2 separate regions of the Homo sapiens genome follow, and region 2 is linked to region 1. Evidence: promoter capture Hi-C in 16 types of primary human blood cells and fetal thymus (Javierre and others, 2016). All regions are on one chromosome and are shown on one strand. The core of a region is centred on a gene start or on the middle of the fragment in contact, and the rest is flanking DNA. Distances in the headings are between cores, read along the strand shown.

Region 1 (2,683 bases), core at 93-2,592:
AAGGCAACCGGCTTAATCTGGTAACTGTGGCATGTGCTGGGAGAGAAGCCCTTCCCTCTTCCTATTCAGTTCATAAAATGCTACCTGGGGAGCTCCAACCCATTCCAGCCACTTTCCCCTTTCAAGCCAGGGGATATTGGAGTGTCCAATAAGGGGAGCACAGGAAGCTGATACTCAGACCTCTAATACAGCTTCTTAGCCAAAATTGTGCGCTGTCTTCTTTTTACTGTTTCCAAATCCACAAACAGATGGGTGTGCAAAGCTTTATTTCTGTGAACACATGCTCTAGCACACATGGGAACAGATATGCACATACATTGATACGTATGTCATACACACCCTGTTCAGTTTTACTACCACTCCCAGCCATTAGCATTCCTGTCTCTGCCTGGTTGGTGCTCGGTAAACAGGGGTGGGGCATTGTCCAGAGAGCCTCAACCCATCGAGAACCTGCTGCCACTCCCACACCTTGTAAGTCTAACCTGGATGTTCTCACACTTAGCATGGCTTTACGATGCACCCCCCTCCTCCCCCACACTCCTTCTGGGGCAGCATATCCTTAAGGACAGAATGCTCCTGGTGTGGGCATCAGGAGTAAGGATTACTTGGAGTGCTAATTGGCACCACTTTTCCCACTCCATGGCCATGTACACTTGGGCTCTGTGCTTGATGATAGTCGGCAGTTCTGGGGCTTGTCACCTGTCTCCATGGCCCTGCTTCCTTCTGCTGCCAGCTGGGCTCAGGTGCCCTTGTGCTCCTGGTCTCCTCCCCACTGCCTATTATCCCCTCCTCACCCCAGCTAGACCTGCCACAACCTGCTGCTCCCTGCCTGGCTCCTACCTGCCTGCCAGTACCTGCCCACAGACCAGGCCCACACCACCTATTGTGCCCTACCAGAGAGGACAGATGGGCACCGCCTCCAGTGGCAATGCTAATTCACCCAAGAGGCCTTCCCAGCTCTTCTCACAGAAGGAAGATAAACTCCACATATTTCTGTGAGTATGAGAAAGGTGCACACTCTTGGGTTCAGCAATCTGTAGGCCTGACTTGGGTACACAGGTAGGTGAGTGAAGGTGTCCAGGCCACAGACCTGTCCTGACTCTTTGAAATGATGCTGAGACCCGGTTATCCCTTGAGCCAGGAATCCTTCCCCATTGGTAAATCTCTGACTTACCTTTGCCCTTAATTTCTTCTGCTTAGAACCCAAGTCCCTTACTGTTTCCCTCGCGGTCAACCCCAGCGCGCGAGTTCAAGCCTCGTGCGGCGCGGGGGCGAGCCGAGGAAGGGTAGGGGCGGGGACTGGGCGGGGACTGGAGGAGGGGGCGCGGTCTCGGTTCTGCCACCTTCCCCCTCTTCACGGCCAGGAGCGCAGCCGCCGCCGCCGCCGCCGCCGCGTCCTCTCAGCCTTGCGCTCCGCCCGCTGCCTCTGCCGCCGCAGCGCAGAGCCGGGCGCACCGGCCCCGCAGCCTGCCCACTCTTCGGGCCGCGTGCCGGCTGCAGCCGGCATGGGGGGTTGCTGAGAGCGAGCACTCCTTTCCTCTGGCACCTCCCCCGGCTACTGGCCACTGGACTCTGGCCAGCGAGGCTCGGCCCCTCTGGCCCCCAGTCTGGCGCCTGGCACGGCCCTCTACTCTGCTCCTCCAGCTCTGAGCATCGTGTCTTCGCCGCCCCCCCCGCCCGCGCCTGGGATACCTGGGTCCCCCGGCGACCCCTAGGAGAGGGGCGGGGGGGGGCATGAAGCCGCTGGAGAAATTTCTGAAGAAGCAGACGTCGCAGCTGGCGGGCCGAACGGTGGCGGGAGGTCCCGGCGGGGGTCTGGGGAGCTGCGGTGGGCCTGGAGGGGGTGGGGGACCCGGCGGGGGCGGCGGTCCAGCCGGGGGACAGCGGTCGTTGCAGCGGCGTCAGAGCGTGTCTCGCCTGCTGCTCCCCGCTTTCCTCCGGGAGCCCCCCGCCGAGCCGGGGCTGGAGCCGCCCCCTGAGGAGGAAGGAGGAGAGCCGGCGGGGGTCGCGGAGGAGCCGGGCAGCGGGGGGCCCTGCTGGCTGCAGCTGGAGGAGGTGCCGGGGCCCGGGCCTCTCGGGGGAGGGGGGCCCCTGCGCTCCCCTTCCTCCTACTCATCTGACGAGCTGTCCCCAGGCGAGCCCTTGACTTCGCCGCCCTGGGCCCCTCTGGGCGCCCCCGAGCGGCCCGAGCATCTTCTGAACCGGGTTCTGGAGCGGCTTGCTGGAGGGGCTACCAGGGACAGCGCCGCCTCAGGTAAGGAGCCGGTGGGCTCGAACACCCAGAGCAGGGGCTGGCCCCGGCTCCTCTTCCTTGCCCTTGGAGCGTAGGGGTGGCGCCGTGCCGGGGCTTGGTTATAGGGTTGAGTGGTCCGCGGAAGCCGGCTAGGGGCCTAGCGGAGGTACAGACCCTCCCGCGGAAGAGGAGAGCAGTACTCACCTTCCTCCCTACAGCAGCCTCACCCTCGTCTGGAGAAGCAGCTGAGCCTCTTACTCTCCTTCAGCCACCCTTCCTTTCCCCTGGGCATTGGAGCCACTGACTCCCATGGGTCCCTGATGTTGAATACCTCCTCCTGTGGCCCCAAATTAGGGCCTGACACATTAAAATGGGAGCTGCCCAGCGCAGCCATGCCACCCGCCAGAGGTGCTTTAGCCCTGAAAACCCTGGGGTCCCTGACTGTTCAGA
Region 2 (2,683 bases), core at 121-2,620, 270 kb after region 1:
GGTAGGGAGAGATGGGTCAGCAGAAAACATTCTAGGAGAAATGCCAGCCTGGCACCCAGCATATCTGGGAAGGGGGGTCCTGGGGGAGAAAGTCGCTAATCTTGGGGCAGAGATGCCAGTGGCAATGGTAGAGGAGGGGTACTGAGACTGGGAGGGAGCAAGGGCCGAGCCCTTGGGTTCGCGGGGTACAACAGAGTCACGTTCCCTTTGAATCTCCATCCTCCACCAGCCAGAGGGTATCTGGCACCAGATAAGGATGGCTGGTAGCCTCCTCCTCTCTCAGCACTTTGAATGCAAGACAGAAGAGCCCTCAAAGGGCTGGGTAGGAATACCTCATCCTCTGGTTGGGTAGGAATACTCCATCCTGTAGTGGAGGAAAATAAGATCCCCTAGGGGTTTGGGGAGGGCATGGCATGAGAATTTTGTGGTTGTCCTCTGGATATAATGCAAACTGGCCTCCAGGAATATCTAGGGGCTGGGTGTGGAGGTTCATGCTTGTAATCCCAGCACTTTGGGAGGATTGCTTGAGGCCAGGAGTTCGAGACCAGCCTGAGCAATATAGCCAGACCCCCGTCTCTACAAAAAAAAAAAAAAAAAAATAGGCAACTGCAGTGGCTCATGCCTGTAGTCCCAGGTATTTGGGAGTCTGAGATGAGAAGTTCAAGGTTACAATGAGCTATGATCACGTGATTGCACTCCAGCCTGGGCGACTCTATTTCGTAAAAAAAAAAAAAAAAAAAAGTAGGCCGGGTGCAGTGGCTCACACCTGTAATCTCAGTATTTTGGGAGGCTGAGGAGGGTGAATCACCTGAGGTCAGGAGTTTGAGACCAGCCTGGTCAACATGGTGAAACCTCGTCTCTACTAAAAATACAAAAATTAGCTGGGCATGGTGGTGCGTGCCTGTAGTCCCAGCTACTTGGGAGGCTGAGGCAGGAGAATCACTTGAACCCGGGAGGTGGAGGTTGCAGTGAACCAAGATTGTGCCACTGCGCTTTAGCCTGGGTGACAGAGCGAGACTCTGTCTAAAGAAAACAAAACAAATAAACAAAAAAAACAAAAAACGGTGTCTTGGAATGGGGTGGCTTTAGGTCCCCTTTGGATGACACAGCCAAGGTCTGTAATGCCCCTCCCCCTTTCCTCCTTGCCTTGTCCTCCAGCCTCCAGCCATGCAATGGATGCAGGTATCTGGAGAGAGACGAGGGAAGCCTGGAGGTACCTACTGAGCAAGCTATGCCCGTGCCCTCCCACACCTCCTAGTCATCATAGAAGTAATCCCTTGCTGTGACCTGGGCCACATGGCACCATGTAAAAGGCACTCTCTAGAGTTCTGCTGCAGCCCTGCAGGGTCTGTGGGTGAGATAAGACGACCAAGCCCCTACCCACCCATCTTTTTAGCCTTACACAGTCAGTAGGCCACTGTCTGCTTTAGGTCCCAAGGTTTGGGCCCACTGGCCCGCGAATAGCTTGGTCGAGGGTACCTGTCTATTTTTTCTGCCTTTTCCTTTTGGGGCTGAGTGTCAGCAGGTGGCTGGGGGAGGGTGGCCACTTGGCATGCCCCCTTCTTTGGCTGCTATGGTCCAGCTGCCTCCTGTTTGCCCCAGGGGCAGATCTCCCCTTTCCGTCTCCAGCCACCCCTGCCTGCCCTCCTGTCACAGCTTTCCATGTGCTGGCCAGGTTGTGGCTTAACACCACTGAGGCCACCAGAGATGAGGCGGGGCGTGTGCATCAAAAGTCCACACCTCTGCATCCTGGTACTGATCCTAGACTCATGGAATCTGGGGGAGTGGACAGCGGAAAGATCAGCGTTTGGACGGGGAGTTCCTAAGCTGGGCTCTCAGTCCCTTTGGGACAGGGTTAGGGAACAGGCAGGCTGGGTTAATTTTTAGTCAATGCAGCAAATTCTGCCCCCCTACTTCAGTACTGGGAATCCAGTTATGTCATGGGAACAAGGGCATTCCCAGAAATTCTGTGCCTTGTGGGGAGGGGGAGGGAGGAGCATGGCCGCTTCCCATTTTTAATTTAGTACTGGCAAAGCTAGCAGTATTGGTGCCTCGGGTATCAGGAGTCTTTCCACTTAAAGACAGAGTGCTGCAGAGCTAAGTCTCTCCTCCTCCCCTTCCACCCAGTCTACTTCATTTTCCTAATTTTTAAAGTGGGGAGGGCAACAGGACCTGCCTCACAGGGTTGGGGCGTCTGGCATCGGGTAAGAGCTCAATAAATTGAAGTGATGAGGAAGATGGTGATGAAGAAGCTGATGCTGGGACTTAGGGAAGCGGTAGGACGAGGGAGCAAATTTGGGGCAACATTCAGAGGAGTTGAGAGGGGTGGGGTGGCCTTTGGTGCATTTTGCTGCTGTCAACATGGGAAGAACAGGCCAAGTTGCCTTATCTGTTTTTTATTCTGAGGCTGGCAGCATGACACAGCTGTTGGGGGTGATACCCCTTGAGCCAGACCTCAGAGAAAGGGCCTGGTACCCAGCACCAGCGGTCTTGGCTTCTCCAGCTAGAGTCTAGGGGAAGAGGGAAAAGACCTTTCTAGCAGGACAGGTGGGTGACCCTCTGGATCACAGCTGAAACTTCTGGTCGGGATGGCTGGGCCCACTCAGTTCATAGCCTAGGTGTCTCTCGAGGGCCAGGGGCTGGCGTTGGGGAGAAATTGTGAGGGTAAAATCAGGCAACAGGA

Evidence for each region. The method cuts DNA at HindIII sites, captures the fragments that hold promoters and counts their contacts. A CHiCAGO score of 5 or more calls a contact.
Region 2: a fragment that was not itself captured here is called in contact with the fragment with the promoter of RAPGEFL1 in region 1 in 1 of 17 cell types (neutrophils); the score reaches 5.2 in neutrophils.

What each region holds. Positions count from the first base shown.
Region 1 is chr17:40,176,128-40,178,810 of GRCh38, forward strand. RAPGEFL1 (Rap guanine nucleotide exchange factor like 1) reads left to right here and starts at 1,343. Exons shown (of 15, transcript NM_016339.6): 1 at 1,343-2,254. The coding sequence starts at 1,735. RefSeq lists enhancers at 222-722, 723-1,223, 1,615-2,471, 2,472-2,683 and a silencer at 1,255-1,384. The HindIII fragment of the contact is 3,169 bases long and covers 261-2,683 here.
Region 2 is chr17:40,445,590-40,448,272 of GRCh38, forward strand. The region is part of intron 1 of IGFBP4 (insulin like growth factor binding protein 4); the gene reads left to right. Among named protein-coding and RNA genes, the nearest start is that of IGFBP4, 3.5 kb to the left of the region's middle. The HindIII fragment of the contact is 3,027 bases long and covers 1-2,683 here.